Regions from separate parts of the Homo sapiens genome. Here all the other regions are linked to region 1. The links are contacts of gene promoters, found by promoter capture Hi-C in blood cells and fetal thymus (Javierre and others, 2016). All regions are on one chromosome and are shown on one strand. The core of a region is centred on a gene start or on the middle of the fragment in contact, and the rest is flanking DNA. Distances in the headings are between cores, read along the strand shown. Region 1 holds the start of MPO (myeloperoxidase). Region 2 overlaps HSF5 (heat shock transcription factor 5). Region 3 overlaps HSF5 (heat shock transcription factor 5).

Region 1 (4,074 bases), core at 272-2,771:
CGTGGGGCTGCGTCTGCAGGGGAGGACAGGGCGCTGACACCGGGAGGCTTGTGGCGTCCGGGACGCCTCTCTGAGCCCGGTTCCTGCAGCCACCCCCAGCCAGCCGCACCTGTTGTTGCACATCCCGGTGATGGTGCGGTATTTGTCCTGCTCCGGGCAAGTCACCCCCACGTCCTGGTAGGCGCAGCCGCTTGACTTGGACAACACATTCAGCTGGGCGGGCGTCAGCACATCTGCCGGGGGAAAGAACAATGGGGGAGCTGAGCCGCCTCACTTCCTATCCCAGGCAACCTGAGGCTGAGGAGCCCTGGAGACTCCTGAGACTCCCTGGAGGAAGAAGTTGAGGGGATCACTGAGAGACGGCTGGGGTCCCTAGGAGGAGTCACTAGTGGAGCAGGGACCTGGGGTGTGATGGGCAACAGTACCAGTGACATTGAATGGCCTTCGCCACAGGGACCGCAGCTTCCTCTCCAGCAGGTCTAGAGCCACGTGCAGGTAGTCAGCGGCCCTCACCGCCGTCCTGGTGGCTGCCACCGGCTGCTTGAAGTAGGATAGGAGTTCCATGGGGCTGGCTGAGCCGCTGCGAAGCCGCTGCTTGATGCTGCTTGGAGAAAGGAGGAGTGAGGGCCAGAGAAGGGATACAGACCCACCCAGCAGAGCCCCAGCCCAGGGGCAGACATGCAGGACCATGCAGGCAGGCCCACGGGTGGGAGGAAGGCTTCCTTTTATAAAAAGGATATGGACCTGGGTGTCCAGACAGAGGCAAGGCTTTGGGAAGGATGGCTTTTAAGCTGTTCTCCCATCCAGAAACACAGGGACAGACAGACAGAAAGGGAGTCCACATGGGTCCCCATAGTCCCCCTCTCCCACCTTCAAGCTCCCTGCTGCCTGCTGCTTCTCTGAAAGGCCTGGGACATCCTTGCCCAGAGCTGGGCAGTGCCTCGTGCCCCACCTTTCCCGCCGCTCCTTGTAGGCCTTGTCCACCAGCTGCTTGGCCTCCTCCATGGAGCTCAGCACCAACGAGGTGTCCACCTCCCCCAGGACAGCTGCCCAGAGCAGGGATCACAAAGTCAGGAATGGGCCCCAACCCCCTATCAGGCCCCAGAGCTAGGAAGGCCTGCTCTGAGAAAAGGGGTCTCTGGAACACAACCACCCCAACACACCATCTTCTCCCACCTTGGGAACTGTTACCTGGAGCAGCACCTTCAGAGGGCTGGGGCGTGGCCAGAATGGCCAGGAGCCCTGCTAGGGCCAGAAGCAGCTTCATCTCTGCAGTGAGACCCCCAGCCCAGCAAGGTCCTAAGTCCACCATGCATCTGAGAGAAGAGAAGAAGGGAACCCCCATCTCTCTTCTCCTGGGCTGCTCAATCCCCCTTTGTACCTCAGCCCCACCTCAGAGGGCCCTGTCTATGGATAAAGCCAGACCTCCTTGAGGGAGGGGCTCACTGCTCTCTTATCCCCTTGCCAGCTGCTGTCATCCAGCTTCCAAGGACCCCACCTCCACAGCTCACCTGATATTGTCAGCTCCTCTTAGCTCAATCTGCGCTTTTATGTCCTCTAAGCTGGGGGTGGGGTGAGGTAGAGGAAGGTCTGATCCTGGAGACTGAACTCTTTCTCCTCCCCCACTGGGGTTGGAAGGTACACACAGAGGGGCCCCTGAAATGGGGGGAAGGGGCAGGAAAGGAGGGGCCAGCATTGTCCCCAGCCTTTTTTTTTTTTTTTTTTGAGACGTTATCTTGCTCTGTTGCCCAGGCTGATGTGCAATGGTTCAAGCGATTCTTCTGCCTCAGCCTCCCGAGTAGCTGGGATTACAGGTGCCCGCCACCACGCCCTAGCCTCTAGCCACATCATCAATTATTTCCTTAGGCAAGAAGTAATTTTTGTATTTTTCCTTAGGCAAGAAGCTAATTTTTGTATTTTTAGTAGATACAGGGTTTCACCATGTTGGCCAGGCTGGTCTTGAACTCCTGACCTCAAGTGATCCACCCGCCTCAGCCTCCCAAAGTGCTGGGATTACAGGCATGAGCCACTGGCCCCAGCCTGTCCCCAGCCTTTGAATTTAGCACTACCAGCCCAAGATTTCTCAGCTCACCATTGTGTGCCTATACCAGTGCTTGTCCCCAGGGGATACACACAACTAACCCCTCTGAAATTCTGGTTACACTGGTTATCCAGGGTTCCTTTGAAAGGAACAAAAGTCAGGAACTGGTAGCCCAAGGAATTGCAGGGAATAGAGTGCCCCCAGGGAAGACAGGAGGATGAAAGGGAGACCTGGAGTAAAGATGACCCAATTGGCCTCAGGTGGCCATCCCCCACTCCAACAGTAACCTGCATCCAACAGCCACCCAATGGGCAGCCTCTGGTTCTTGGTGGGGCTAAGGGGACAGGAAATCTGGCTGGAGACCGTTGGGCTTCACAGGAAGGAGGACCCTGGGGACTGTGGGCGCAGGACCAAGATAACTTCCTCTATCCCTCCTCACTCCCCTTTCTTCTTGGCTTCTGGTAGAGGGCTGTCTCCAAACTCCTCCTCCCCACCACCATCTGCTCCTGGATTTCAGGAACCAGGAGAGAGCAGAACTGGTTGTGGTTAGTGATCAGTTAGGTGATGCAGCCCAGGGCCTCTCTGGGACAGGATCAGTGCAGTTGGGAGGACTTGGGTTAATGATTCAGAATAATTCTGAAACAGAAGAGGATATTTCTTGCTTGAGAAAGCCCAGCAAAAGGGCCACCAATCTCAGCAGGAAAAGTACTACGACTTTTGACTGAATCAGTCTACCTCTCTGGGCCCTGGTCAGGCTGAGCTCGTGCCAACCATGCCTCCCATGTCCCATTTAGGTTCCCCCTCCTACCTTCAGCCACCTTCCCGCCACCCACTCTTTTTTTTTTTTTTTTTTTTTGAGACAGGGTCTCTCACTGTTGGCGGAGCTGGAGTACAGTGGTGCAATCTCGGCTCACTGCAACCTCTGCCTCCTGGGTTCAAGCAATTCTCCTGCCTCAGCCTCCCAAGTAGCTGGGATTACAGGCGCCCGCCACCATGCCCGGCTAATATTTTGTATTTTTAGTAGAGATGGGGTTTCAACATGTTGGCCAGGCTGGTCTCAAACTCCTGACCTCCTCCTGATCCACCCACTGTTGGGATTACAGGCGTGAGCCACCGCGCCCGGCCCACTCTTGTCTTCTATGCCCAGACCACCTCTTGGCCAAGGGACAAGGGACAGCAACACCCAGAATATCTTCCCAGTGTGTCCAGGGATTCTGTCCCCTGCTGAGAAGGGGAACCAAGCTTTTGCCCTGCCAGTGACTTGCTGTGTGTGAAGTTGGTCGAGTGGCTCTTTGTGAATCAAGCTCTAGAATTTTAGAGGCTTTTGGAAATGATTTTTCAATCCTTTAAGTAATATAATTTTCACTGATGAAAAGTTTGAGAACACGAGTATGCAAAAATAAAAATAAATCAAAATTACTCATCATCAAGTGAGATTGTGGGTACTTTTTTCTTTCAAGGTTTATCATTGTCTTCACATAAATAAACAATAGGAAGGAAAATAATTGCCCATAATCCCACCACTCACCAATACCTCATTTAAGAATTTGATATCCTATATGTAAACATAATATATATTTTTAAATATTGATAAGAAGAACTTTAAATATTGTTTTACCATCTACTTTCGGTACTTAACAATTTTAGTCTGAGCATCTCCCTGTGTCAATAAATACAGGTTTACTTCATTTTTATGTCTGTATAATATTTCATATAACTATTTTATATGATTTATTAACTAATTCTATCTCATTAGATACTTAGAGTTGTTTCTGATTTTCATTATTATAAGTAGTACTAGGATAAGCATCCATGGAGTTAAATCTCTCGCCACATCGTCAATTATTTCCTTAGGCAAGAAGTAAAATTCCTGCGTATTTGGGTATGCGTGTTTTAGGGCTTTTTAATATTGATAGTCAAATGGCCTGCTGAAGATTTTACCTCATCCTCCCATCAGCCATGCATGAGAGCACCTGTCCCCTGTCACCCTTGTCAACCTTGAGTATGCTTGAGTGTCCTTTCGCTCTTTTAAG
Region 2 (4,022 bases), core at 244-2,743, 160 kb after region 1:
ATCTCACACATTGACTTTGGTTAAGGTCTCTTAATGCCATGGGACCTTACATATAGCCATGTTTTCATAGACCAACTGCTAGGCCAAGGTCTATCAGAGCAGAATCATTTGCAACTTCATGAATTGTATTTCTGCCTACACTTTAATTAAAAAACTTTTTTTTTTTTTAGCAGAGAGGTTCTAGCTTAATCATAACTCATTTTCCTCTTGTCCATAATAAAATGAAAATGTGATTAGGTGTCATAATGATGCCAAGATTTCACAACTCTTATGTTTCACAGCAGGAAGCCAACATCAATTAAGACTCATCTATTAACTGCACTGACCAAAGGATAAGGCTTTACTTAGAAAAAAAAAACAACAGGAAGAGTTAATAAAGATAATTACTGTGCTAATTATTTTATCAGTTACACTTATAACCATAACATGTAGTGAAAGAGAGGAAATTATTTTTTTAACAGCAGGCACCAGAGTTCCTCTCAGGGAGGTAATTGTCTTTGTTGAGGAATATGTCTCGATAGATTGTTCTGGTTGGGAAAAATGACGCCTTAAAAACATCAAAAAATAGAAGAGATACCTAACCTTCTTTGCCTAAGTAAAACACAGGAATTCAGCACCTGGGGAAAGAGCAGAAAAAAAAAACCAACCATAACAACAACAACAACAGAAAGCAGAGAAACGAAGGTCTGGTGCTAGTACAAGGAAAGAAAGCAACATGGCAGAGGACCATATTGACTAGTGACAAGGAAAGATGCCGTAAAGTGACTGGGGGCCTTTTAATTCCATTTTTGCGGTATTCTAAATATTTCTGTCGGTATTTCTGCCTCCCGACATCTTCATAAAAGTGTGCTACACATACACATGCCTAGCATAATGCTTAAAGGGAGGAAGAGGTCAAAGAAAGTGGGCCAAGTTCTGCATCTGGTATAGCATGGAACAGACAGATAAGAACAGCCCTGGGAGGTCAGATATGGACAAGTCTGGAATTACATTTAAGCAGAAACTCAAAAATAAAAGCTACTGTGAACCCTAGAAAGTCTCAGAAATCTTAGAAAGGCATTCTTGGTATAGGGTAAGTTTATCTTGAGTCAATCATATCTAAACCTCAAAAGTCAGTTTACTATCTGGGATATAAATATTTTTTAAAAACACTCTGAAATTGTTCATTTCTATTACTTTAAGGCTTTTATATTCCTGCTATAGGAACACTTCAAGTATTTAAACTACTTTTAGTATTTTTAGATTTTTTAAAATTTGAAAAACATAGAAGAATACAGATGGTGAAAATTTCCCGTAATCCTATTATATATACATATACAAATTGAGAAGTTAAGCATACCCCTGCACCCATACATTCTATCTTCTGAGAGATAACTAGTGTTATATTTATCAGCTATATCGTATATCTCCAGACTTTTTTCTATAATTTTACAGCATATACTTTCTTTTCTTTCTTTCTAGAAAGGGGGTTGTGCTAGACATATTGTGTTGCAACTTACCCATTTGCTGAACACATTATGAACACTTACTGTCTTTCCAGGTCACAACACATCAAGCTACTTCAGTTTCTTAAATGGTTGCACAGTATTTTATTATGTAGATGTCATAATGTATCTGGTTCCCCACTGTCAGGCATTTATGCTTTTCTCAAATTTTTGCTATTATAAATAACACTATAGCAAACTTATTTTGAGTACCTTTGGGAATATACACATTTCTACAGGAGAGATTCCCAGGAGTAGAGTTCCTGAGTCAAAACTCATAAGCATTTTAGTTATCTATAAATAATGCCAATTGTCCTTTATAGGGCTATACGAATTTACATTCCAATTACAGCATAGAGAAGGTTCCTTTTCTCTATACCTTTATCAAAGCTGGATATTATCAACAGTTAAAGTTTTGCCAATCAAATTGCCAAAAAAAAAAATAATTGGTTGATTTTGGTCAGTGACAGACCATATAGATGATGATGATTCTGTAAGATTGTACTCTATTTTTACTGTACCATTTCTATGCTTAGCTATGTTTAGATACACAAATACCACTGTATTACAATTGCTTACAATATTCAATACAGTAACATGCTGTAAGGGTTTGTAGCCTAGAAGCAATAGGCTATACTATACAGCCTAGGTATGTAGTAGGCAACATCATCTAGGTTTGTGTAAGTACAATTCACAATGTTTATAAAACAATAACATTAACTAATGACATAGTTCTCAGAATACATTCCTGTCATTAAGGGATACATGATTATATGTGCTACTGGCTTTGCAGTCAGGCAGCACATGGTTAGGACACAGCAAGCTAGAATGTTGGTGATCTTTGTTATCCATGCCAACATATTTGGTAAAATCATTACCTGTGACACCATGGAAGTCAGACCACACATGCCAAGTGAACATACAACCATGGGGGAAAAGATTGACAAAAATCACAAGGTGTTGACTATTTCTTGACACATTCAGCAAAGCCCTAAAAGAAGAGATAAACTCAGGCTAGAGGTACCTAGTGTGCAAGCAGAGATGGAAGGGAATATTTGACTGCCTGTGGTTGACAACTTATTGACTAGAGTTCAGTAACTGGGTCATGAATCCAACTGCTTCAATACCCCAACCTGAAGTTGCACTAAGAAGTGCCTTAAGGCCAGGCATGGTGGCTGACACCTGTAATCCCAGCACTTTGGGAGGCTAAGTTGGGAGGATTGCTTGAGACCAGGAGTTGGAGATCAGCCTGGGCAACACAGTGAGACTCCATCTCTTTGAAAAGTAAAAAAAAATCAGCTAGGTGTGGTGGCATGTGCCTGTAGTCCCAGCTACTTCTTTGGGGGGTTGGGGGTAGGTTGGTTGAGGTGGGAGGATCACTTTAGCCCAGAGATCAAGGCTGCAGTGAGCTATGATCGTGCCAGACTAGGCAACAGAGTGAGACCCTGCCTCAAAAAAAAAATAATAATAAATAAAAAAAATTGGTGGTACATGCTGATTAACATTAAGCTAAGCCCAACAGTTGACAAATCTTGTCAACAGAGCTTCTGTAAGCTTTTTAATGCTCCATTCTTGAATAGGGAAGAAAGCCAATGGAAAAAAAAAACAAAAACAACAACAACCAAAAAAAAAAACCAGAAAGAACGTAGAGGAAACTGACATATGTTGTGGGGAAACAACTTCAAAACCAGCCCTTCCATTTAGTATCCTCAGAGAGCTATAAGAAGATATTATATCCATATAAAAGAACAGCAAGTTCCCCCAAAAAGGAACAATTATAGAATAGAATAAAAAAGAGCTGTTAGAAGTTATAATTTTTTTTTTTTTGAGACGGAGTTTTGCTCTTGTTGCCCAGGCTAAAGTGCAATAGCGCGATCTCGGCTCACTGCAACCTCCACCTCCCGGGTTCAAGCAATTCTCCTGCCTTAGCCTCCTGAGTAGCTGGCATTACAAGCATGCGCCACCATGCCCAGCTAATTCTGTATTTTCAGTAGAGACGGGGTTTCACCATGTTGGTCAGGCTGGTCTGGAACTCCCAACCTCAGGTGATCCGCCCGCCTTGGCCTCCCAAAGTGCTGGGATTACAGGCATGAGCCACCATGCCCAACTGGAAATTATAAATTTAGTAGCCAAATTTTTAAAATTAAACATTTGAAAGTTTCATCTGAGGAACATTCCACAAAATAGAAAAAAGATAAAAGTATAACAAAATTGAAAGAAAAAAACAGAGAGAGAAGTTCATCTCAGCATATCCAATACTGGACTAAAGAAAAAATAGGAAAAATGGAAGGGTAAAGAGGTAAGAATTTTTTTTTTTAATGATATGACCACTTCTGGTAATGTCAGGCCTGATAATTAAGACCAGCTTTCCTATTGAAGACAACTAAAAAACCTGGACAGATGATAGAAACAATATTCTTTAAAAGTCTCAAAAGGTAATGAGATAGTAAAGAATGACTGGGCTGAGTGTCAGGTGAGAGTGGGGATCCAGAGAGTAAGCCTTGTATTTGAGGCTACTTTTACCTTTGTGACATTTGC
Region 3 (3,866 bases), core at 838-3,337, 180 kb after region 1:
AAGACCTGAATAGACATTTCTCAAAAGAAGATACACAAATGACCAACAGATATATGGAAAAATGCTCAATATCACCAATCATCAGAGAAATGCAAATCAAAACCACAATATCACCTCACCCCAGTTAAAATGGCTATTATAAAAAAGACAAAAAATAACAAATGCTGGCAAAGATGCAGAGAAAAGGGAACTCTTATATGCTATTTGTAGGAATGTAAGTTAGCATAGCATTATAGAAAAACAGTATGAAGGTTCTTAAAAAATTAAAAATAGAACCACTATATAATTTAGCAGTCCCACTACTGGATGTATCTCCAAAGAAGATGAAATCAGTATGTTGAAGAGACATCTCCACACCCGTGTTTACCACAGCACTATTTACAATAGCCAAGATATGGATCAACCTAAATACGCATCTACAGATGAATAAAGAAAATGTGATATATATATATATATGTGTGTGTGTATATATATATATGTGTGTGTGTATATACACACACACACACACACACACACACACGTACGTACATAAATATACAATGGAATACTATTCAGCCATAAAACAGAATGAAATCTTGTCATTTTTGGCAACATAGGTGAACCTGGAGAACATTATGTTAAGTGAAATAAGCCAGGCACAGAAAGACAAATACTACATGATCTTACTCATATATGGAAGCTAAAAAAGTTAATTTCATAGAAGAAAGTAGAATAGTAAATACCAGAGGCTGGGGAAAGTAGGAAAGTGGGGATATTGGGAGAAGTTGGTCAAAAGTTGTAGTTAGATAGGAAGAATAAGCTTTGGTATTCTATTACACAGTAGCATAATTGTAGCAAATAACAATGTAGTGTATATTTCAAGACAGCTAGAAGAAAAGGTTTAGAGTGTTATCACCACAAAGAAATGATAAATGTTTAGAGTGATGGATATGGTAATTATCTCAATTTGATCATTACACTACATATACATGTGTCAAAAAATCACATTGTACCTCATAAATATGTACAATTATATTTAAATTATAAATTAAAAATAAAAATGGTTAAAATGATAAATTTTATGTTACATGTTCTTCAACACAATAAAAAATTAAAAGGAAAGAATATGTGCTCTACAGGCAGACAACTTAGGGTAGGATATTAGCAATATTAGTTTATATGTGACTGGCCATGCATGGTGGCTCATGCTCATAATCCCAGCACTTTGAGAGGTCAAGGCAGGAGGACTGCTTGAGCCTAGGAGTGCAAGACCAGCCTGGGCAACATAGTGAGACCCCATCTCTATAAAAAATGAAAAAAGGCAGCTGGGTGCAGTGGCTCATGCCTGCAATCCCAGCACTGTGGGAGGCCGAGGCAGGCAGATCACCTGAGGTCAGGAGTTCAAGACCAGCCTGGCCAACATGGCGGAAACCTTGCCTCTGCTAAAAATACAAAAATTAGCTAGTCGTGGTGGAGTGTGCCTGTAATCCCAGCTACTCAGGAGGCTGAGGCAGGAGAATCACTTAAACCTGGGAGGTGGAAGTTGCAGTGAGCCAAGATCACGCCATTGCACTACAGCCCGGGCAACAGAGCAAGACTCTGTCTCAGAAAAAAAAAATAATAATAATAATAAAGAAAAGGAAAAGGAAAGAAAAGAAAAAAGGGCCAGGCATGGTGGCTCATGCCTGTAATCCCAGCACTTTAGGAGGCCGAGGTGGGTGGATCACTTGAGGCCAGGAGTTCAAGACCAGCCTGGCCAACATGGTGAAACCCCATCTCTACTAAAAATACAAAAATTAGCCGGGTGTGGTGCCACGCACCTGTAGTCCCAGCTACTCGGGAGGCTGAGCCATGAGAATTGCTGGAATCTATGAGGTGGAGGCTGCAGTGAGCCAAGATGCGCCACTGCATTCTAGCCCGGGCAACAGAGAAAGACTCTGTCTCTAAAAAATGAAAAAATAAAACAAATTTATATGTGACTTTGAACAAGTTACTTACTCTAAGCCTAAATTTCCTGATGTTTAAAATGACAATGCCACTTCCAACAGATTTGTCCTATGGCACAAAAATGGATACGGTAAATGTTAGTTCCTGCCTTTCTCTCATCTAAATTGCCTTCAAGGCTCATGCCATTGTGTTAAACACCTTCAGTGGTAAGAAATCTTTAGTCTTTAATTATGGATTGGAAAATATAATCAACTAAAAGTGTGCAAGCTAAATTTAGTGAATAAATGATAGACAGTTTTTAGCCTAAAAGACATTTTGCAGAAAGAACCCTATGAGTCTGAGCTACACCATGATCATATCACTATTAATTTACTTTTTGGAAAAATTCTCACAGAAGTTCTCAACATTTTTCAAATTATTGTAGGTTAAAATGATGGTCTGTCATTTTAACCTACACTGTCATTCTGCCTGCACTGCATGCCCCTGACATGAACATAATTCTAGAATATTAAAATTGTCCACTGCAGACTTTGGTAACTTGATTTTTGGATGATATGAGACACATGTTTTATTAGATGTTACTATTTCTTCAAAAAATATGATTTTGTCTTATTAGAATCAACTGTATGTGCCTAAAACAATCACTTATTCTGGGTTCTTACAAACCACAAGAATAACAAACCATTCATTGGTATAGGGTCATACTTTATAGTATCTTTAAAATGCGCTCAGGATAATATCCTAAATTTCCATCTGATTTTCTCTTGTCACAATATAAATGCATGCCCTCTTGTCCTAGAGTCTGTTAATAACAGAGTAAGTACAACTACAATTTCGAAGTCTGGCATCTGAGGATACTTATTAAATCATCCTTCATCCTTGCCTTCTCCAAGTTAAATAATCTAAATTCCTTTGCTTATTCTTAATATGTTCTATATTTTCAAAGCCCAAATCATTATATGCAATATTAAGAAAATAACTATTACATACTTCACAACAATAATTAAGAACAAATATAGAGTTAAAATTACAGCTATGTAAAAACAGCAATGTGACAGGTCTAATACAATTATGAATAATAAATGGAGACCCAGAAAAAATGTCATTCATATATTAATTCTACAGCGTGATTCTACTTCTGGCATTCTAGAGCACAATAATCCTTACCAGGGGACTTTCCTTGTTGTGAGTTGCTTCTGTGCTCTCTGTATCTGGCTGGAGTGGCTAAACCTGTGTCTTCACTAGGCTTGCTAGCAGGCCCCATTTCTGAAATGAGGAATCCCATCTGTTCTGACGGCAAGATATTCTCACGTGAACTGGTCTGGCATTTTATGTTGGCATCCACCTAAAATATTAAACCCATTCATTATTTGAGATTTCCTCCAAATATCTGCTAAAAGTTAAGATATTTTATCAGAGGAGTTCTATTATGGGAACATGATCCAACAAACAAGCTTATAAGGCTTTTCATTCTTATTATTGATACTATACCTTTCTCCCTACACAAACTATTAAAATGTATATGGAGCTAAAACATTTACTTATGATCAGAGGAATATCTACCATGAAGCTTGTTGATTTTTTTTTAACTTACAAAAGTACAGGTTTTTTTTTTTGTTTTAAGGCAGGGTCTCACATTGTTGTCCAGGCGGGAGTACAGTGGTACAATCATAGCTCACTGTAACCTCGAGCTCATGGGCTCAAGTGATCCTCCTGAGCAGCTAGGACTACAGGTATTAGCTAATTTTTAAAAAGTTTTTTTGTAGGCCGGGCGCGGTAGCTCACAGCTGTAATCCCAGCACTTTGGGAGGCCAAGGTGGGCAGATCATGAGGTCAGGAGTTCTCGACCAGCCTGGCCAGCATGGTGAAACCCTGTCTCTACCAAAAATACAAAAAATTAGCCGGGCGTGGTAGCAGGTGCCTGTAATCCCAGCTATTCG

What was found. The method cuts DNA at HindIII sites, captures the fragments that hold promoters and counts their contacts. A CHiCAGO score of 5 or more calls a contact.
Region 2: a fragment that was not itself captured here is called in contact with the fragment with the promoter of MPO in region 1 in 1 of 17 cell types (M1 macrophages); the score reaches 5.6 in M1 macrophages.
Region 3: a fragment that was not itself captured here is called in contact with the fragment with the promoter of MPO in region 1 in 1 of 17 cell types (M2 macrophages); the score reaches 5.1 in M2 macrophages.

What each region holds. Positions count from the first base shown.
Region 1 is chr17:58,279,414-58,283,487 of GRCh38, forward strand. It overlaps MPO (myeloperoxidase), which reads right to left and starts at 1,522. Exons shown (of 12, transcript NM_000250.2): 1 at 1,192-1,522; 2 at 953-1,046; 3 at 426-601; 4 at 110-233; 5 at 1-13. The coding sequence starts at 1,345. RefSeq lists promoters at 1,512-2,106, 1,512-1,652, 2,045-2,446, 2,331-2,556, 2,602-2,802 and an enhancer at 2,455-2,472. The HindIII fragment of the contact is 16,452 bases long and covers 1-3,281 here.
Region 2 is chr17:58,436,191-58,440,212 of GRCh38, forward strand. All of the region lies in intron 5 of HSF5 (heat shock transcription factor 5), which reads right to left. Among named protein-coding and RNA genes, the nearest start is that of RNF43, 21 kb to the left of the region's middle. The HindIII fragment of the contact is 3,086 bases long and covers 1-3,036 here.
Region 3 is chr17:58,455,675-58,459,540 of GRCh38, forward strand. HSF5 (heat shock transcription factor 5) reads right to left here. Exons shown (of 6, transcript NM_001080439.3): 5 at 3,094-3,271. Among named protein-coding and RNA genes, the nearest start is that of HSF5, 31 kb to the right of the region's middle. The HindIII fragment of the contact is 2,581 bases long and covers 798-3,378 here.